Linked DNA regions of Homo sapiens: regions 1, 2, 3, 4, 5 and 6 are each linked to region 7. Evidence: promoter capture Hi-C in 16 types of primary human blood cells and fetal thymus (Javierre and others, 2016). All regions are on one chromosome and are shown on one strand. Each heading gives the region's core, a stretch centred on a gene start or on the middle of the fragment in contact. The rest is flanking DNA. Distances are from core to core; before and after follow the strand shown. Region 1 holds the start of TAB2 (TGF-beta activated kinase 1 (MAP3K7) binding protein 2). Region 2 holds the start of UST (uronyl 2-sulfotransferase). Region 3 overlaps TAB2 (TGF-beta activated kinase 1 (MAP3K7) binding protein 2). Region 4 has its middle 25 kb from the start of TAB2. Region 5 overlaps TAB2 (TGF-beta activated kinase 1 (MAP3K7) binding protein 2). Region 6 overlaps TAB2 (TGF-beta activated kinase 1 (MAP3K7) binding protein 2). Region 7 holds the start of UST-AS2 (UST antisense RNA 2).

What was found. The method cuts DNA at HindIII sites, captures the fragments that hold promoters and counts their contacts. A CHiCAGO score of 5 or more calls a contact.
Region 1: a contact is called between a fragment that was not itself captured here and the fragment with the promoter of UST-AS2 in region 7, in 10 of 17 cell types (non-activated CD4 T cells, megakaryocytes, activated CD4 T cells and 7 more). The highest score is 7.5, in non-activated CD4 T cells.
Region 2: the fragment with the promoter of UST here is called in contact with the fragment with the promoter of UST-AS2 in region 7 in 2 of 17 cell types (total B cells and naive B cells); the score reaches 7.0 in total B cells.
Region 3: a fragment that was not itself captured here is called in contact with the fragment with the promoter of UST-AS2 in region 7 in 14 of 17 cell types (activated CD4 T cells, M1 macrophages, non-activated CD4 T cells and 11 more); the score reaches 16.2 in activated CD4 T cells.
Region 4: a fragment that was not itself captured here is called in contact with the fragment with the promoter of UST-AS2 in region 7 in 5 of 17 cell types (non-activated CD4 T cells, naive CD4 T cells, total CD4 T cells and 2 more); the score reaches 7.1 in non-activated CD4 T cells.
Region 5: a contact is called between a fragment that was not itself captured here and the fragment with the promoter of UST-AS2 in region 7, in 14 of 17 cell types (activated CD4 T cells, non-activated CD4 T cells, M1 macrophages and 11 more). The highest score is 15.4, in activated CD4 T cells.
Region 6: a contact is called between a fragment that was not itself captured here and the fragment with the promoter of UST-AS2 in region 7, in 15 of 17 cell types (total CD4 T cells, activated CD4 T cells, naive CD4 T cells and 12 more). The highest score is 15.0, in total CD4 T cells.

The regions. Positions count from the first base shown.
Region 1 is chr6:149,316,170-149,318,952 of GRCh38, forward strand. TAB2 (TGF-beta activated kinase 1 (MAP3K7) binding protein 2) reads left to right here and starts at 1,543. Exons shown (of 7, transcript NM_001292034.3): 1 at 1,543-1,846. RefSeq lists silencers at 686-755, 806-1,345, 1,436-2,335 and enhancers at 2,426-2,605, 2,766-2,783. The HindIII fragment of the contact is 9,290 bases long and covers 1-2,783 here.
Region 2 is chr6:148,745,481-148,748,460 of GRCh38, forward strand. It overlaps UST (uronyl 2-sulfotransferase), which reads left to right and starts at 1,550. Exons shown (of 8, transcript NM_005715.3): 1 at 1,550-2,197. The coding sequence starts at 1,951. It overlaps LOC124901425 (a long non-coding RNA gene), which reads right to left and starts at 119. Exons shown (of 2, transcript XR_007059806.1): 1 at 1-119. RefSeq lists enhancers at 1,179-1,238, 1,299-1,378, 2,687-2,980 and silencers at 1,949-2,038, 2,339-2,508. The HindIII fragment of the contact is 11,485 bases long and covers 1-2,980 here.
Region 3 is chr6:149,335,580-149,338,703 of GRCh38, forward strand. The region is part of intron 1 of TAB2 (TGF-beta activated kinase 1 (MAP3K7) binding protein 2); the gene reads left to right. Among named protein-coding and RNA genes, the nearest start is that of TAB2, 19 kb to the left of the region's middle. RefSeq lists an enhancer at 1,134-1,283. The HindIII fragment of the contact is 2,030 bases long and covers 679-2,708 here.
Region 4 is chr6:149,291,172-149,294,077 of GRCh38, forward strand. It overlaps a transcript of TAB2 not described here and the pseudogene RN7SL234P. Among named protein-coding and RNA genes, the nearest start is that of TAB2, 25 kb to the right of the region's middle. The HindIII fragment of the contact is 8,368 bases long and covers 1-2,906 here.
Region 5 is chr6:149,354,713-149,357,809 of GRCh38, forward strand. All of the region lies in intron 1 of TAB2 (TGF-beta activated kinase 1 (MAP3K7) binding protein 2), which reads left to right. Among named protein-coding and RNA genes, the nearest start is that of TAB2, 39 kb to the left of the region's middle. The HindIII fragment of the contact is 8,099 bases long and covers 1-3,097 here.
Region 6 is chr6:149,373,265-149,375,982 of GRCh38, forward strand. All of the region lies in intron 2 of TAB2 (TGF-beta activated kinase 1 (MAP3K7) binding protein 2), which reads left to right. Among named protein-coding and RNA genes, the nearest start is that of SUMO4, 26 kb to the right of the region's middle. The HindIII fragment of the contact is 1,637 bases long and covers 646-2,282 here.
Region 7 is chr6:149,031,395-149,034,265 of GRCh38, forward strand. UST-AS2 (UST antisense RNA 2) reads right to left here and starts at 1,267. Exons shown (of 2, transcript NR_134599.1): 1 at 1,131-1,267. All of the region lies in intron 7 of UST (uronyl 2-sulfotransferase), which reads left to right. RefSeq lists an enhancer at 1,671-1,860. The HindIII fragment of the contact is 1,599 bases long and covers 62-1,660 here.

The DNA.
Region 1 (2,783 bases), core at 24-2,523, 280 kb after region 7:
TTGTAAATCCTAATTTTACTTTTGCTTCTCTTAATGGTATCACCAATGGAGAATAATTAAATTCCGATATTGTAAATCATAAGTACTTTCAGCTTTTGAAGTGGCAAAGTATTTGAATTGGTGCTATAGCCCAGACTTCAGGTATTTTCAAAGGATGAATGAGGAAAAAGGAAGTGGGGAGAAAGAACTTTTAACTGTGAGGAAGGCTCTACTATTTAAAAGATGGTTTAAAAAAAATTCTCACTGTAGCTACAGTGCTCACACTGGAAATAAAAGTATAAAAATGGTCCTTTAGGATTTTTCTCTGGAGTAAGAATTGTTTCAAGGAAGAAACTGCCAGGGATATGGACATTTTGGACAGGGGCAGAAAAATGCCCTAGTGTTTTGGACACCATGGAAGCGCTAGAATTTTTAAATAAATATTTCACATTGTGAGAAACGTCTGAGTATTAAACACGCTTTTTTTTTCCCTAGGGGGACACTAAACAAATATTTATTTAAGGAGGTAGAAACTTGAAGGCCCCCCCTCTTCCCGCAAAGCTAGTCTTTGGCTCTGCTTCTAGGACTTCTAGGAACGTGCAATTAAAATAAAATCGAAACAACGAAACCCTCGCAGCATTTAGATTTCTTTTTTCCCCCTCAACTGCTCAAGAAAAGTCAGAAGCCGACACTTTTTCCAAGTCTCGAAGTTGCCAGTTGTGAGGCTCCCAAGACGTCTCCCGCACACCCTAGGGACGATTCTGCACGGGTCCCTCCCGTTAGCCGGCGGTGCGATCCGGCTCCAAGGGGGTGTGTCCCGGACCGCAGCGACCCGGCGCCAGCCTCCGCCGCGGGCCCACCTGCTCCTCTCGGCCGCCGCAGCGCCCCGGGGTCCGGCCGGGCCCCCGGACCCCACCCGCGCGGCGCCGCCGGCCGCCCGGCAAGTCCCGCCACCCACTTCCGGACCCGGCCAGCCCCTCCGCTAGGTGCAGCTGGGACGCGAGCTCAGTTCCTTTCTTCCCTCAGCCCAAACTGCTAGCGGCCCCCGTGGCGGGAGGTGGAACCCGCAACCTACCCCCAAGGATGGGGGGCCCAGGCGGAGAAAGGGGGTCCCAGCCCTCCCCGGGCTGCCCGCACCGGCACCCCCCTCGCACGGCCCCAGCGGCGGCCCGCGTCCTCCCTCCAGCCCTAGCAAGACAGGCGTAGAGACTGCGAGTGTCGGGGGAGGGGTACAGGTCGGAGGAAGAGCATCCCCGGGCCGCAGCCGCAGCCGCCGCCGCCGCCGCCGCCTGCTGCTCCCCCGCCGTTCGGCTAGGGGAGGCCTCGTCACAGCCGCCGCCTCAGCCGCGGCTGCAGATCTCGCGGTGTTTGCCGGCCGCCGCGCCGCCATATTGTGTGACAGTATTTTGATTTGGACTGGGCTGGCGGAGCCGCGGCGAGAGCGAGCGAGAGCTGGGGGGGTGGGGGGAGGGCAGGCGAGCGCGAGGGGGGTGGGGGCAGAGGGAGGTGGGGAGGCCGAGCGAGCCGGAGCTGAGGATTGGGGAGCGGCGACGCCGCCCAGCCGTCGTTTTTGATCTGCTGCAGCCGCCGGCGGGGCGACCCAGCCCGACCCCCTCCCCTCCCCCTCAGCCAGGAGCGGTGGCGGCGGCGGCGGCCGGAGGGAGTTGGCGGCGGCGGGCGAGCGGAGGGGGCTGAGCGGGGAGGGAGGGAGGGCTGAGGTGTCCCCCCTGCCGGGTGGAACCGGAGGCGGCGGCGGCGCTGGCGGCGGCCGTGGTGGCGGAGGCGACGGTGGAGACGGCTGCCCTAGTGGGAGAGGCGGCGGCGGCGGCGGCCGAGGAGGAGGAGGGGGAAGCGGCGGCGGCAAAGGGTAAGCGGACAGCGCTGCCGGGCCTCGGCGGGATCCCCAACCTGGCTCTCCCCTCATCGCCCCGCACCCCCCTCCGTCTGGAAGGGGCTCTGCCGCCTCGCGAGGCCCGTGCGGGGCGTTCGCTTCTAACTTGCACTCTTCCTCCCTCCGCCTCTTTCCTTCCCCCAGTGGCGTGGCGGAGAGGGAGGCCCCCCGAGTCCCCCAGTCCGGTGGGGGTGGGGAGCATCGGGCCGGGCCTGGGCTCCGGGGCGTCCGTGCGGGGGGGGAGGGGGAGCTTCATTGGAATCGAGCGCCTAGGAGAGCCCCGGGTGGGGGAGGGCGCAAGGGGCTCGGGAGGGCCCCTCCCTGCGTCGGCGCCCCTGACCCGCCCCCAGGCATGTGTGAGGTGGGGGCGGGGGAGGAAAAATCTCCTTTTGGGGAGCCGAGGTCTAGTTAAAGATGACTCAGGGGCGGGGGTTTTGGGGACAGACACGGGGCAGTTATGTGGGGGTCGGGCGGGAGGGAGAACATCGTTCCTTTGCGGATCTTGGTTTTCTGCAGCCGTCTTTGAAGTGGGGGGCAAGCCCTACTATGAATATGTGGCCCCTTAAATTTCACTGGATGTTTCTGGTTTTCGGTCCCATCAACCTCAAACCCTACGATTGTGGTTGAGTCAGGGAGGCTGCAAGGGTCTCTTGGCGGTGCTGAACAGGTGACAGGTGGATCTTTCTGTTGCTGATGCTGTGAGATGTTCAGGCACAGTCGTACACCAAAGTGTCAGAGACCGTGTGAGTTTGTATTTATGTGTTTGGCCATGTTTCATTCCATATATAGTATATTTGAGATGTTAGGTTTCCATTCTTCAAGTCAGCTTAATTGTTGTGGATAAATTCTTCAAATGTTTCTGATAAGAGGGTTTTCCAGGAGAGCGGAGGGAATTTGCAGCCTCACAGGGGTT
Region 2 (2,980 bases), core at 300-2,799, 290 kb before region 7:
ATATATGTTTCAAATCATGAACCAGAGACATTCATATATGAACATGGTTAAGACATATTCATTCTTTCTTTCTTTCTTTTCTTTTCTTTCTTTTTTTTTTTTTTTGAGACGGTGTCTCGCACTGTCGCCCAGGCTGGAGTGCAATGGCGCGATCTCGACTCACTGCAACCTCCGCCTCCCGGGTTCACACGATTCTCCTGCCTCAGCCTCCTGAGTAGCTGAGGTTAAGACATATTCTTAACGAGTAAGTTCTTTGTCTAGGATAATATTTTGTAATTTTCCACAGAATATTCTTCAGATGCCTAACTTGATGAAGGTTTTCAGGAGCCTAGTCTTAGAATCATAGAGGTTCTTGGCTCCTGGTTCCTTCTTAAATCCAATTGTTCATTACTGGAATATACAAATGAGTAGGGAGCCAGAAATGATAGGCACCAGAAACTGAGGTTTCCATTTCTCAATGTGGCCTGAACTAAATGAATTAAATCTCATCCTCCTATGGGACGTGAAGGAAAAGGGCTCTGGCTGGGAAGTACTGCTGTGCAGTGGTTAGTATAGTGGGTCTGAGGGTCAAATAGATTTGAGTGCAACTCCCAACCCAACTCCTACTACTAGCTTTGGGACCTCGGGTGAGTCACACAGCCCTCAGGTGCTACAGCTTCTATAAATAGTGATATAGTATTCTTACTTAAAGTGTGGCTGATCAGAGCAGCCCTTCCGTGGATCAACCACCCCATCAGAGGATCTATGTCTAGGATTGAGCCTTTTCTGCCCCAGGAGGTTCTTTCAGGTCCAGAGGCTTTCCCGTGGAGGGAAGAGAGGCAGCAATGAAATCAGCGTATAGGCGGACTGGGCTCTTTCCCCTTCATGTCTGCAGGGCAATGACCTCCTAGAGTCCGCTATGCACCCCCCACTTGCCTCTCTGGGCACTGCGAGGTGGAGCAGTTGTAGGACCAGGAAAAGCAAGAACAGAGCGTCCTCTTCGGCTACCCTACCCGGGAGTTCAGGCGCTGCGCCTGGCCCTCTGGGGCGTGTTTGACCATAACTCGCACCGCTTGCTCTTTTCCCATTTCAGCAAAGTCTTGAGCCTGTATTCTAGTACCTTTTATCAGCCTTGGGTAAGCAGCTCGCACGGGGTATATAAGGAGAATCAACTTTCTGAACTGAAAAAAATGTAAATAGTAAAGTCAGTCGTGCTTCTTCCTGCCGGTGACTGTTTACAAGAGGGAAGTCAGCGGGGCCCCCAAGAGGTCGCTGGTGGCGCAGGAACCGCATCCAGATTGTAAAGAACGGGGGAAGGAAAAAAAAAGAAAACACCCAGAAACTTTCTTCCTTGTTGCGAATAATCGCCGCCTCCCCCCCTCCGCCCCCAGCAGAAGCAGTAACGTGACACCCGAGCGAAATCCCGAGACCCGAGCGGAGAGGGAGGGGAGAGGGAGGAGAGTGCTGCGGAGCGCCGGAGGGAGAAAGGGGAGGAGAAGGAGGAAAACCCCTGTCAAGGAGGTGGAGCGAGGGGATGGTGTCCGCCTCCTGTTCCTCCCTGCCGTTTTTTAGAGAAGCCTGAACCGGGACAAAACACGCCGAGACCTACAGACACAAAGCCGGGGGGTCCACGCTGGCGCTGGAGGCGAGCCCCGGCGGCCGCAAGCGAGCCCGAGGCGCGGCGGGGCGCGGGGCGTGGGGACGCTAGCGGGCGCCGGACGGGCGCGGCGCCCCGTCACGGGCAGCGCCCCGAACCGGGGCCGGACACCTCGGCCGCTCGGGCCGCGGCGGCGGGGACCATGCCGAAGAAAGTCTCCTGAGCCCGGCAACTTCGGCCCCTCCCCGCCCCCACCCGGCTGCCCTCCGCGCGGCCCTCCCCATGTGCAGCCGGCCAGCCGGGCTCTCCTCCTCGCGGCGGATGGGTGACCTTTTCCTGGCACGGGCAGGCTGTGGGAGGCAGCGGAGCAGGCGATGAAGAAGAAGCAGCAGCATCCCGGCGGCGGCGCGGATCCCTGGCCCCATGGGGCCCCTATGGGGGGCGCCCCTCCGGGCCTGGGCAGCTGGAAGCGTCGGGTGCCCCTGCTGCCTTTCCTGCGCTTCTCCCTCCGGGACTACGGCTTCTGCATGGCCACCCTGCTGGTCTTCTGCCTGGGCTCCCTCCTCTATCAGCTCAGCGGGGGACCCCCTCGCTTCCTGCTCGACCTGCGGCAGTACTTGGGTAAGGAAGCTGGGCAGGCGCTAGGGCGGCGCCGACAGCGCAAAGTTGTGCGGCGGGGAGAGGGTCGCGGCGGGGACTTCTCGCGCTGCCACCGCGCGCCGCCGCCGCCCCGGGTCTCTCCAGGTGCTAAGCCCGTGAGCATCTGTGCCGCGGTCGGGAGCGCCTTCTTCCTCCCGCGCGTCCGACTGTCCTCACCGAGGCGGGGGCGCCGCTGGGTTGCGCTGCCGGCAGGTACCCCGGGGCGAGGCACCGCTCACCTTCCCCCCGCCCCACCTCCGCCACCCGGATCCGGACTGGGGCGGAGTGGATGGGTGTGTGGGGTGTGCCGGAGTGTGTGTATCTTCAGGCCTGGCGGCGCGGGGAGTGGCGAAGGGAAGGGAAGGTCCTCTTCGTTGCATTGTTAGTGACCGCAGTTCAGTCCCGTCCCGCGCCCCGGGGAGTGTGGGTGGGTTTAGCCCTTTGCCACCGTCCGCTCTGAGAATTCTGTCCCGCAGATCCCCCGCCTGCCCGCCGGCCCTAGTGGCTCCGCGCTGTCCCCGGGCTGGCTTGTCCCTTGGCTGCCGCTGCCCACCCCGCCGCCCGCAGCTAGCCTGGCGCGGGGAACGGGTTGCATCCAGGGGTTTGGGGATGCCCGAGGGCGCTGGTCAGCCTGGCCAGCAGTGTCGCCCCCAGTAACCCGAGGATCCTCGGCGCTGTGTGCGTCTCAAGCTCAAGTCAAAACTTGTGTGTGTGTGTGTGTGTGTGTGTGTGTGTGTGTGTGTGTGTGTGTGTGTGTGGTTTATT
Region 3 (3,124 bases), core at 444-2,943, 300 kb after region 7:
CACAGGCTAGTCTCAAACTCCTTGGCTCAAGTGATCCTCTTGCTTTGGTCTCCCAAAGTGCTGCGATTACAGGTATGAGCCACTATACCTGACCTAGTTTTTTATTTTTACATCAAATAAATGAAGCAACTTGGCAGGGCTCTTTGAAGAAAAATACAATTTTATGAAGTGTTTGTGATTAAAATATTAATAAGCAGAGTAACACCTCATTCATCTAGTATTCTTAGGTAGTAAGTACATAAAATGATTGAAACTTACTCCTGAATCTATTTTAGAGATTTTATAGAGATTTTACAATATATTATGTATATTGTGTGTAGATAAATATAGATATTCATACCTCCAAATCTATTTCTTTATAATGTTTCACATACTTTGCTGCTTTCTGAAATAGTAACACCTCCTCCCCTCCCCCACTTTTACCCTGCATACTAAACCTTTTCTGGAAGATAGAAATAAACATTTTGTTTCAGAGCTTCAGAATGAGTCAGGAACCCCGGGTTCTAGTCCAGGGCCTGGCACTAAGTTGCTATATGAGAACTGAATCATAGATTCTAGAACAGTGCCTGGCACGTAGTAGTGCTTAACCAATATGTTTGGAATGAATCATTGTCTTGTGCTGACTTTAGTGCTCCTTCCTTGATTTATTACTTGGAATTCATTGCTGCCTAGTAAATAAGCTTCTGGGTTCTTAATTAAATAGGAGTATCTAGGTTCTGATAGAGGTGAACTATAAGCCTAATTTATGTCTGTTTTAACTCCTTAGTGGAACTTTTGGCTTATCTTGATGTATTTTCTGGTACTCGAAGTTGCCAAACAGATGATCTTCTGTGCTTGATTTATTGGGGGCACTTGCTGAGTACTTTATATGTGCCTATATTATGTATATGCAGTGTTCTATGTGTAAGCACATAGCACATGTCTCCGGGGATCTTATAACTTAGATGAAGAGACACAGAAGTAGACTGTAAGAGAATAATTAAATGTTGATTCATAAAGCATTGACCTACAGCTACATTAGTAGTTGTAGGAAAAGATCCATGTGGGCTGAAGCAGGATAAAAAGAATTCAAGTAGAAGGTGAAATTGGAATTGGTTTTGAAGAGGTAGTTAAGATTTTGATAAGCCTCAAGGTGAAGACATAACATTCTAAGCAAGGGCAGTAGTGTAGTAAGCAAAGAAAGGAAAGTGTGGGTTGAACATGTTCAGACAGGCCTGCCCAGATTCCTAAGGGTGTGGGGACTGCTGGGAAATAGAAGCAGGTGAATTTAATAGAGTAGTTTTAATCTGCAAGACCCTGAAGGGATCCAGGGATACAATTTAGAGGGCTGCATGCATTTAGATAAAAAAAAAAAAGTGACATCTTTATATTTTTATGAACTTTGAACTGAAATTTAGCATTTACTTTTAATAAGATTTTAAGCGGCAGACTACAGTAATATTAGCAGTACGTATATCTTTTATTACTAATAGAAAAAGCACAGATATTTTCAGATTACAGCTGTTGATATCTCTATAATTTATGCATATTACTACTTCAGAATTATGGTTTTTATTAGACTCCCACTAGATTTTATTGTATTATTACTAAAGAAGCATATGTATGAATATATCACATACAAGGTTTTTAAAAACACTTGATAACTGTTTCGGTATAATTGGTTTTCTTAGTAATGTATATTTTATGCATTTAAAACCATATTTTCAAAAACAACTATATTTTAGTAAAACTGGCTTTCTTTATAATCCTAGATATTGTATTTTATGCATTTAAAACCACTCTGAGGGGGACTCTGTAGCTTTCTCCAGACTGCCAGAGGGATTCATGACCCCCGATCTAGTGGAACCAAACTGGAGAAGGCATTGAAAAACCACACTGAGGGGTTTTAGCTGAAGTGATAAGCAGGAAAGGAGCCTTGCCAATTTTGTTCATTTGTTTGTTTTGTTTCAGTTACAGAATAGATGTGTTAACATAGAAAATTTCAAAGTTTCAACCAGTTTAGAAAAAAGGGTCAAACTCTTCTTAGCTCACAATTGTAGATAAACTGTTTAAAAAAATAACAGAAACTCATCTTGTAACACCACAGTCACTATCCTTCCTCTTTTATTATTTATCTGTTTCAGTTTATTAAATTCCTCTGCAATTGAGTGAAATATTTAAAGTGGTTATATAGGAAACTTTCTTAATCTCTTATACTATACTTACACAGAGGGTGGGAAGACTGGCAGGGAGCTAAGCAGTGGGTCTGGTCATTTATATGTTTGATGATAGGGATAGGGTGGTAAGCAGTTAGAGATAGAGTAAAATTGCAGGAGATATTGGAAAGAAAAAATAATAGAACTTGGTGGTATGGGAGCTGAGATGCATGGAGTCAGGTAAGAGAGAGTATCAGGAAGAAAGTTAAGTATAGGGTGCCTAAATTAGGATTCCTAGAATAATATTATACAGGTCCACAATGCTTTATCTGAAACCCTGAGGCCAGCTGTGTTTTGGGATTCAAACATTTTTGGATTTGGGAAAGGTAACGTGTATATTGTATATTACATAACTCTCCCAGCAAGGTCTGAGGTATCATCCTGTAACTAGACACTAGTATCTCTGCAGTGAAGGTGAAAATATTCACAGTAAGTGGGCTAAATCAAGCCTGTAAATAACCTTACATCGGTTCAACTCAGATTTTTGCCACCACCAAATGAGTTTCCATATGAAGCTTCGTGGAAAAATCTTGTCCTGACATTTTATTTCAGAACTATGGAAGTAATTGTGGACTGTATTGACTGTAATAACCATTGAGGAGAGTCTTAGAAGTTGTATTTTAAGGAATGTTAATTACAAAATGGATGCGATTTCAAGGAGTTGGGTAAAGGTAAAGAAAGAGAAGAGAGAAGAGTTAAGGTAACTTCACTTTGCAGGCTGAAAAGAAATTGCTATTTCTGACAAAAATGGAAAGTTGAGGAGGGAAACTAGTATTGGAAGAGTTTAAGTTTAAACATAAGTACAATTAAGATGAAACAACATATTTTTGCTTCACATGAAAGCTTGGAAGTTGTTGGAGTGTAAAATTTCCTTTTAAAATGAAACCTAGAAGGAGCTTAACAGCAACCTACAAGGAGCCTAACAGACT
Region 4 (2,906 bases), core at 359-2,858, 260 kb after region 7:
AATGATTGGGGAGAACATAATCTGGGATCTGAAAAAGAGGACATACATTTATAATCCAAGATTGCTGAATTTCAAAAAATTGGACTACAACATGAAAGAGTTCACATTTTCTTTGATTATTCAGAAAACACTTCAGAATTTTACTGTGACTGGATGTCATCAGTAGAAATATTATTTTAAGCCGGGCACAGTGGTGCCTGCCTGTAGTCCCAGCTACTCCAGAGGCTAAGGTGAGAGGATCGCTTGAGCACAAGAGATCTGGGCCATAGTGCTCTAAACCGATCAGGTGTCTGCACTAAGTTTGGCATCCATATGGTGACCTCCCTGGAGCAGAGAACCACCAGGTTGCCTAAGGAGGGGTGAACCTACCCAGGCTGGAAATGAAGCAGGTCAAAACTGTCACACCGGCCTGGGTGCAGTGGCTCACGCCTGTAATCCCAGCACTTTGGGAGGCTGAGGCGGGGAGATCACTTGAGGTCGGAAGTTCGAGATCAGCCTGGCCAACATGGCAAAACCCCGTCTCTACTAAAAATACAAAAATTAGCCAGGGGTGGTGGTGGGTGCCTGTAATCCCAGCTACTCAGGTGGCTGAGGCAGGAGAATCACTTGAACTGGGGAGGTGGAGGTTGTAGTGAGCCAAGATCATACCACTGCACTCCAGCCTGGGTGACAGAGTGTGACCCTGTCTCTAAAAAAACAAAAAACAAACAAAAGAAACTATATACATTATTTTAGATTTCTAGGAGAATGAGTACTAATCACAGTGATGTTGCTGGTCATATAAATAGTAGAAGACATGGTGCCAACCCTTGAAAGTTTATAGTCTAGCTATGAAGACAGATCATAAGAACTAAATAATTAGAAAAGTTATAAAGCAACATACCAATGAACATTCATTAAAATTTTTGCAAATTAAGACCTAAATGAGAAACTTCATAAAGGAGTAATCTTAGAAGCCTTCCAGAGATGTGATCAGGGACTGGGTTTTGCAGAATGTAAGTATAAGAATGTTAAGCAGATTGATTCACTAGACAGAGGCATAATGCCTCTGATTAGTACAATGCTCTGTAAAGAGTAAATGGTTTAGTACATATTTTACAACAAAAACTGACTCCCCTCATTTTCCAGTGACTTGGAGCATCAGAAAAAAACTCTTTCATAATCAGGAGTGCATGTGAACTAAACAAGTCAAGATAAAAAGCACAGCTTTAGAATGAGTGATTGATGCAATTAAAATTATTAGTAAGCAACAGATTGGCTGTAAAGTAACAAGTTTAAACAATGAGACTACACCAGCAAGCATTTCTAGAATTTCTCCTTACTTTGAAAAAGAGAATAAAATAAACTTTGAAAAAGGGAATGAAAGAAATTGTTTTAAATGGAAGAAGAACCAGTCGTTAAATTTTATTTTTGAAAAAACACTGAACTATGCTGTTGACAGGATTCAAATAGGTAAATTAAGGAGCATAAAAATGACATATAGAATGTCATAAAGATGACATATGTCAAAAAATGACATAAAGAAATCCAGCATATTTTTGATTTGGAACAAAAGCACCCCTGAAGTTTCTAAAATTAATATACTCTACCTTAGTTAAGCAACAATGAGCTTTCTCGGGAGTTTTTTCATAGCTAACCGTATGACCAATTTCTTTAATGTTCTTAATCTTAATTAAATTCCTTTGTTTTTCATTAATAAAAGTACCATATAACCTAATCTAATTATAAAATTTTTTCATTGTTACTCCATATATGAGGACTGAATTAAAATTCTTTGGCCAGATGAATAAATTAATTTTTCCAGGTACGTATCTTCACTAGTTTTCCTGATTGAAATGTTGGCAAGTTGGGAGTTTCCCGTTGAGCTTTGCTTCCCGTGAAAACAACCATGAGAGAACTCCAGAAATGGCCTTCTCAGGCCAGGCTTCGTGACTTTCAGGCCTTTGGTTAGAGGGGCCCAATAATGGCAATACATTAGAAAACTTCTGATTTCTTCCTCTTTTTAGAATTGTTGAGAGAGAAATGTGGGGGGAAGTGTAAATGGAATTATTTCATTTAGAAAAAAATCATTGAGTATAAAATGTTCTGAAATTTTTTATTCTCTGTAATATAGTATAAATTTGTTTTATATAAATCTACCATCTGATTCAGGATGATTAGTAATCTACCTCTTTTTATCCTTGAGAGAAGGCTGGAAAGTGCAATTGAAATTTTTCTCTTTTTGAGTCATCTCCAGTAAGCTGTCATTAATTCACTTCTTATGTGTGTTGCTATTGTTTATTTGCATGGGTTTTCTGGTTTCAAAATAGAACTGGTCTGAGATGCAGCTGTCCTGGCTTGTTGTTTGAATCTTTGCACATTCCAATAGCATTTTCCGCTGGAATGTTGAATTTAATGAATGAAAGACCAGGTGTTCCAGGTACATTCAGCCTGGGTAGAAAAGGGCATAAATGACAGGGTCCCAGTGCCTTTTCAGATAGTTAATAAATTAGCATTCATGTTAACTCTTCAAAAAATGTCCCCCTAAATGTAAGTTTAACATGTTCTGTTAAAGTGAAATTTATGATATCTTCCAAAATGTTGTTGGATCACTTCACAGATAATACAACCTCATTTACATCATCTGATAATATGAAAAGAACCATCATAGAAGCAGCTATTCTGCTATAACATAATAATTTAATTACTATGAAACCTCAATTGATCCAATATATAATGTTATAAAAAATTTGTTTCAATGGTGAAAAGGCAGATAGAGACTAGAGAGTATCAAACACTCAGTAGCAAAGTTATTTTCCCTGAAAAAAAATTAATAGAAGATTTTTAAAGTTATAAGTGAAGAGCTAAAAAAAACCCTAAGAATTGCTGTATAAATCCAGTATCTGATTATATCTGACTTTGCTAGA
Region 5 (3,097 bases), core at 353-2,852, 320 kb after region 7:
TGTTCTGCACTTAGTGGTGGTAGTTTTTTAACTGAGTATTGTTTCTTGGGGATTATTCCATATTAGCATCTCATTCTTTTTAATGGCTGTATAGTACATTATACTTTTGTGAATGACCATAGTTTACACATCACTATTAACAGATACGTAAGTAGTTTTTGGTTGTTTATCATTAGAAACATGCTTTGGCAAATATATATAGTTTTCTGTGTGACTGTATCTGCAAACAGATTCATAAAAATAGAATTGTGAAGTCAAAAAATAAATGCAGTTTTAATTTTGATACAGATTGCCAAATTGACATCTATAGAGACTGCACTCTGAGGTGAGGATTCCCCTCACCAAGTGATGTGTTAACAGACATTTGGATGTTAATTAAAGATCATTATTTTTTAATAAATTAAATCTCCCATGATGCGCCGCCCCTATACTTTTTTGTTTGGTCTCCAATTTAAAATTTTCCCCAGTGAAAATTATTTACATGATAATGTCTTTCTGTTTTTGCCAAATATTACATGACTACTTCCTTGCATTTTCTGAGGTTTTAATAAGTTTTAATGTCTGCATAATAGTCAAGTATTAATAAATTACAGTTTGAAAAGCTGCTTTCCAAAAGTTAAGCTGTTTGGTTCTTTTTTGGTTTTTACTGTTAGAAAACTATTTTAAACTTAGGGCAGGTGTGGTGGCTAATACCTGTAATCCCAGCACTTTGGGAGGCCGAGGTGGGTGGATCACCTGAGGTCAGGAGTTCGAGACCAGCCTGGCCAACGTGGAGAAACCCCCGTCTCTACTAAAAATGCAAAAATTAGCCGGGCGTGGTGGCAGGGACATGTAATCCCAGCTTCACAGGAGGCTCAGACAGGAGAATCGCTTGAACCCAGGAGGTGGAGGTTGCAATGAGTCGAGGTCACACCATTGCACTCCATCCTGTGTGACAAGAGCAAAACTCCATCTCAAAAAAAAAAAAAAAAACTATGTTAAACTTACGTTGAATTACTTCCTTAGCATAAATTCCTAAGAGAGAAAGGTACTGCTGTCTTTTGATTACCTTACTTACATGACACTGTTTACCTGTGTGCTTCCTACCTCAAGATGCTTATGGATAAATAGGATCATGCCCAACTAAATTTGAGAAATATTGCATCTGCTGCTGCTACCCAAAGATTAACAGTGCATATTAAAGTCCAGAAATAAAGAAACCTCCTTAACTTTAAGTAACAGCATTTTTCAAATGTATTGCCACAAAAAAAAAACTTATTTTTCCATGTAACACTTAACTAATGCTATTGAAAGGCTCTTTGAGAAGTGATAAATGACAAAGTGATATATTGGGCTTTCAAGTAGATTTCTTAAAATTTGAATTATTGAATCTGTTCTGATACCTCCTAATTTAATCGTATTTCCTAATGTCCTAGAGAATTCCAAATGCTTATTTCCTTCTAACTAAAGGTAATGGTAGTTCTACTTTAGCACATAGAAATGTAGGAGACTGCCATTCAACAGGTATTTGTAGAAAACTTAGTATGGCCTTATTAAAGGCAAGATTTCACAGTGATTCTGTGACTAAAATTGGGGGTTAACTGAAAGTGAGACTCAACTTCATTTTATACACGTAGATGTGGATTGTCAAAATGAGCAACCATTAAACAAGGTTACAGAAATAAGATGATAATCTTAGTTTATTCAGGCTGCTGTAACAAAATACCATAAACTAGGTAGCTTATAAACAGCAGAAGTTTATTTCTTGTAGTTCTGGAGGCTATGAAGTCCAAGATCAAGGCACCAGCAGACTGAATGTCTGGTGAATTCCCACTCTGTGGTTCGTAGGTGGCACCTTTTAGCTATGTCCTCGCATGGTGGAAGGGGCAGCTCAGCTCCCTCGGGCCTCTTTTATAAGGCCACTAATCCCATTCATGTAGGTTCCACACTCAAACCTGATCACCTCCCAATACTGTCATCTTGGGGGATAGGATGTCACATACGAATTTTGAGGGGACCTGACCATTCACACCATAGCAGGTGAGGATGGATCTAAAGCATAAAAATCTTTCCAGCCTTCATCTGTAGATCTTGACATCAGATGTTGAGTATTCACTCTTGTAGTGTGGAATTTAGGATTTTGTTTTTGTTTGGTTTGAAATGAATTCCAGCATTAAAATCTCTTATATGATTAATTTGCTACAAACAGACTTTCACCTATCCATAGAATTTTTTTACAGTAATTTATAAAAATGCACCTGTCATTTCAAAAGAGCATATCGTATTTTTTACAGATACCTTGACTATTCAATTATTTCATTCACCAGCATTATGACATTTATAACAGTCTAGTGGCTGAAAACTGAAATAACCACGTCTTTATTATTTACTTTTAATTTATTTTTACTTTTTAAAAGTAGTGTGTTTTCAGCATGAAACATTTTAGCCGGGTGCAGTGGCTCACTCCTGTAATCCCAGCACTTTGGGAGGCTGAGGCAGGCAGATCACGAGGTCAGGAGTTCGAGAGCAGCCTGGCCAATATGGTGAAGTCCCATCTCTACTAAAAATACAAAAACTAATCGGGCGTGGTGGTGTGCACCTGTAGTCCCAACTGCTCAGGAGGCTGAGGCAGGAGAATCACTTGAACCCAGGAGGCGGAGGTTGCAGTGAGCCAAGATTGTGCCACTACACTCCAGCCTGGGCAATAGAGGGAGACTCCGTCTCAAGGAGAAAAAAAAAACACACACACACACACACACACACACACACACACACATTTTAGCCTTGATGGATATAAAGTAATAGTAAAGACTCTTTATCAATATGTAAATGGATTACATTATACATTGTTTAATTTAGTCTATGCTTCTGCCCCCTTGAACGGTGTTAATGAACATCTGTCCATGTCAGTACATTTAGATGAACTTAATACTTTACAACATTTAACTTGTTTCTGAATTTGTCATGTTATAAATTATACTGTAATAAACATCTTTTCTTATGTATCTTTTTTTTTCTTTTTTTTTGAGACAGAGTCTCGCTCTGTCACCCAGGCTGGAGTGCAATGGTGCGATCTTGGCTCACTGCAACCTCCATCTCCCAGGTTCAAGCGATTCTC
Region 6 (2,718 bases), core at 214-2,713, 340 kb after region 7:
CCGTTTTTAAATTCTCTTAACATGACGATTGAATCTGTAAGTTTAAAATTGGTATTTCTTTTCAAAGTACTGCATTAAGTATTTTTCATTCAGTATATGCAACACTTAATATTTAAGTGCCATGTACTTAGTGGAACCTTCTCAGATGACCTTCACCCATTGTCCTTATCCATATTTCTATGATAACACCTACCATACTGCATTTCATTTGTGTTCACATTATTCTCCTCCACTAGACTGAGATTCTTGCGATCAGCGATCATATTCCTTTCTCCTTGCTAATGAATGCTCAGTAAATGTTGGTTAAAGGAGTGAATGAATGCCATAGGGTATATATGCTTTGATACTATCTGTAATTTCTGTGTCTGTGCAGGAGTTTGGGGAAAAATGAAAGAGGAACTGGAATTAATGATTCAGACCTTTTTATAGCTTTGAGGAGAATGCAGATTTGTGGCTGTATACCAAAAAGCAGTGATTTTCCACCTTCTAAAAACTCATATCCCACCCCTTTTGATACACTTCAAGAGAGTCTTCTACCCTTTCTCACTAAAAGTAACCAGGGCTGCTTTGAGAAATGGCTGATTGCAAGTCTGGAGTAGATGTACATGATAAGCTAGAACATCTTGTCATATCAGAAAGCAGAGAAGCTTTGAAAAACTACTGGATTCATGTCGTATACCGAGGAGCCAACTTGAAGCTGTTCCCAGTAACTTGAAGAGGGGACATAATGACCAAAACTGATTGAAACACATCAAAATATTAAAGACACATGAGTTTATAATGATACTAAAAATAAATCATAGTCACCTTTGGAGGTTGCTAGGGACCAAATTTGTTACTCTGAAAACTAGTGAAAAGAATTTTTTTATCCTGCCTCTTCTGTGCAGAATGTAACCAAATAGTTGAAGAGAGCAAGCATTCAAGGAAGAATTGCTGCTAAGAATGAAGATGAAATCCATTTTATGTTTTTTGGAGACTGGGTCTCGCTCTCACCCAGGCTGGAATGCAGCAGTGGGATGATCATGGCTTACTGCAGCCTCAACCTCCTGGGTTCAAGTGCTCCTGCTACTTCAGCCTTCTGAGTAGCTGGGGCTGCAGGTGTCCTACTCTACCTGGCTAATTAAAAACAAGATTTTTTTTTAGAGACAGGGTCTCACTATGTTGCCCAGTCTGGTGTCAAACTCCTGGGCCCAGCGATCATCCCGCCTTGGCCTCCCAAAACGCTGGGATTACAGGGGTGAGCCACTGCGCCTGGCCAAAATCTTATAATTGGGACATTCCAGTATTACTGTTTAGCACCCCTAATGAAATAGTGTTTCTAAGCAGTGATCATCAATAGCTGCTAAAAATCATCAGTTGGATCAAGCTGACAACATCTGAATCTACCAGTTGGTTTTAAAATCACAAAAAGACAGGCAAACATTGCTGTGTCTCCTTGTATGATTTGACAGTGGATGTCTGTGATGGTCACCAAAAATTCAAACATGGACTTCATCACATCCCTAGATATAACTACTAGTTTACAATGAAATGCAGGGGAAATTGATTGACCACGGGGTGCAGTCCAGAATAGGGGAAATTCTACTACACAAATACCAAGTTTTCTCAACAAACAAATGGCTAGAAAAAATTTTAAAAGAGGGGAGGGGCTGGTTATTAGAAGAAACCTAAAAGGCTTATCAGCCAAATGAAATATGTAGGCCTTATTTAGATCCTGATTTAAACTAACTGTACAAAGACATTTTTATGCTTTAATTTAGTGCTATTTGAATATTAGGTGATGCTAAGAATTGATTATTTTAAGGTATGATCATGGCATTGTGGTTATGTTTTTAAGTCCTGTCTCTTACAGTACATATTGAAGTATTTACAAATCAAAACGAGATAATGTCTGAGACTTCATCTAGTTTGGTAGGGGGAGTAGCTGAGGCATATACATCAAACGAACAAAGATGGGTGATAAGTATGTGGGAGTTTATCATATTTCCTCTCTCTTTTATATATGTTTAAAATTTTCTAAAATAAAAATTTTAATAAAAAGTACATTTCCTTTTGTCCTAATGTAACCTTATAAAACCCCTGTAAGTTCTTTTATGTTTTGCTATTAAGAAAGTAATGTCTGTAGAGTGTAAATAATTTGAGTGCACATAAATTATGGCATAACTGAGCTAGAATATTGCTTTTTGATATGAACATATTGAATAATTACAGAGATTACAAAGGATTAAAGGAATTTTTGAGCGCTCAAGAGAATTAAAGAGGAAGGCTAAATATGAGTATCAAGCTTTTACAAAGGAAATGTGGAATTGGATTTGGTAGGGAATGTAAATTTTAAATTGAGAATGATGACAGAGAGGAGGTGAGAGGAAGATAAACTCTCTGAGCTTTGGCTTAGAAGGAAGAAGAATTTACTTGGAATGGCAATAAATTTAACTTAAAGCAAAAAGGGCCAATCAGGTTTGGCAAAAGATAAGATCTAATTATAATAGGAATCGTTGATAAAGATTGTGATCAGTTTTTCAACTTTATTTGAAAAATTAGTATGTATCAATTAAGAGTTATTAGTAGGATAAAAGGATTTTTCTACCATGAGAGGTTTAAGTTGTTGGTTTTAGGAAGGGGGAAGTCAAACCTTGCTCACTATCCTTTTATATTACCTGTTGAAACAATGTGAACTGTCATTTCCTTAACAAGGCATCAAGATGCCTTTTTAGTCCA
Region 7 (2,871 bases), core at 17-2,516:
ACAGAAACATCACCAATTCACAAGAATTCAGCCTCTAGGCTTGTTTAATTTACTTTATGAAAGCTTAAATTGCAGCATAATATATGTGCGTTTGGCCTATTTCAACTATTACTCTTTGTTTTATTGGAAAACATGTTTTACTCTTGCTTACTGATTTGTTCTTGCGTTGGGATCATCTCTCCTCCAGGAGAAAGCATTTCCAATTTTATTATGAAAGATTAACAGGAAAATAGAACTTCCTTCACAGACATTGATGTTCTAGGAATAACTTTACAAAAATATTTCTCTTCTCTGAAAACTAATATTTAAATAGGTGTAATCTGAAACTACCAGAAAAATTCAACAAACACCTCCAGCAAATAAATAGCTGAGTGTCTGTGATGTCCCTTTCCTGGGGAAGGGCAGTATAAAGATGAAAATCTTGTCTAGCTGGAAGGCCGTCACTAACAGGGCTGGGGCGCATAACCCTGTGGAGACATTTGTGCCCGGCCTTAAAGGGTGCGTAGGAGTTTGCCAAGTGGACGTGGAAGGAGGCATTTTAATAAGAGGAAAATAACATGATTGGAAGCGTGGAGGTGAGAAAGCATAGAAGCACTCAGAGTGAGGAGAGCTGGGGCTTGGGCCAGCCCACGTCAGCCCCTGCCTGCGGACCCAGCCTCTTGGAGCCAGGCTCACTCACCCTGCCTTTAAGACGGCCCTACCAGAGGCAGGAGAAGGATCCGCAGCCTCAGCTTTCTGTGGCGCAACCTGGCACTGAGTCACTCATACCAATCTCAGCGCCAGTGGCCAAGCCGCTGCTGCCGGAGGGCCTGTGTCACCCTCCCCCCGTTTCCCTGCCCTCTTCCCATCCTACCACCACCCAAGCTCCCTGGCTTCCTAACAGTGTGGCAGGGATCCTCCCAGGCCCCCATCCTCCTCCAGCCTGAGTTCTTCCTCCCTGCTGTCTTCCCAGTCTTCCCCACTAAGATCCCACCACCCTTCAGACCCGGGCTCACACCAGCTCCTGCTGGCCCCATGTGCCTCGCACCGAATACAGGAGGTCGCACACTGCATCCCCAGACACCAAGTACTGCCCTGCTTGACCACCTATGTTCCCCTGGGCCCACCAGCATGGACTCTCCTTCTGTTACCAGTCACTGCCTGATCCAGGCATGAGCTGCCTGTGTCCCCCGACATCATCCTCCTGGCACCATCCTCTGCTCTTCCTGGCCTTCTTCACTGGGAGCCTTCGGGATCATCCCTCCAGATCAAGTTCTTCCAGCCCCACCTCCCTCCCACCCTGTGCACCCAGGGAAATTCATCTCTTCTGGGTCCCAACCTTGGCCTCGGGAGAGCCCCAGATGCCCCCCTCTGTGTCTACCCCAGTTACTCAGTGTGGTCAGACTTGGGGGTTGTACAGTTTTCTGTCTCATGATTCATTTCCCCAGGCAAAAAGCTGGCTAATAATATCTGGGTGTGCGGGGGAGGTACCAGTGTGTTTCTGTGTTTGGAGGTGAATTTTTTTCTACTTTAGAATTTAATCACTTCTACTTTGAGCAGTTTTTAGCTGAGCTGACAGTAATATGCTCTGCATTGAGTATTTGTAGGGGGTGGAATTAGTCACCACAAATTTCAATTTTTGGACTTTCCTGATAACGCCACAAAGCTGAAAGGCTTCTAAAGCTTGAGCAAAGATTGGAAACTTGACCCCAGGGGTTGATGGTTGATCTTTATAAAAACGACCTTGTGGTCAGTTTGTTCTTTTATGCTTAAATTGTCAAGGTCCCTGTCCACCCCAGGAATTAATGTGGTGATGTGGAAAGAGCACTAGACAAAGGATTTCAAAACTGTCTTTGGGCCCTTGGCTCGTGGCCTTAGCTCTCTGACATTCTTTGCTTATAAAATGTACCCCCTGCCGGGGCGAAGTACAATCCTTACCCATTTTGCATGACTCAACATTTTATAATGGAAGCTTCTATTTTTGTCTGGCTAAATCTTTTTCAAATAAAAATATTTCTTGGTCTGTATATTTTTCATGTCTCAGACATTTTTATCAATACATAATGTCCTAGCTTTTCACATCTTGCAAATGGCACAGAATTGTGAAAGAATACAGCAAAAAGCTAGAAATATACCTGTGTATATAACATTGCTGGGGATTTTTATGTGTGGTTTCTTGTGGGTTCTAGTAAGCACGTTCATTTCATTACCTACAAACGCATAGAAAAATCCAACATAATCCCACACTGATGAGAAGAAGAGAGGGTTGTTTGTCAGGTGGGGTAGTTTCACTTGACTTGAAGGTCTCACCCCGCCCCTCGTCTTTACCATAGCATACGCTTCTAGATGCTTCTGCTGCATTGTCAACCAGACTCTACCAGAACTGTTTTTCAAAACATGTGTTCCTAGGATTTTACCTCCCTGCATTTTTTGCTATATCTATTAAGTAATGCATGTATATAATTAAAAATCAAATAGTCCTATAAGATGTATAATGAAAACCAGCAGTTTCCTATTCCAACCCTCCCAAAGATGAAGTCTGATGTTGCAGAGCCAATCACTTTCAGCGCAGCTAGATGTTTCTTCGGATAATCACCGCGCTATCTGTAACTAGTATGCACAGGCTGCTGTTTCTTGATTTACTGGGGTCATGATCTCATTCTCTTATTCCATTACCTTTACTTCTACTTCCTTGCTCCTCTCCATCTTCCTAAGATGGTCATACCCACATTTGAGATGCATGGTCCTGCTGACGTTGCTGTGACTATATACATTTTGTTGGCTGCTGATCAGAGTAGTACATCATGATTTTGTTTCATTTCTTGCACAACTTAATTGTTTTTCCTGGAATTATTTATTGCCTTCATTTATTTGCCTAGATTTATTTGTACC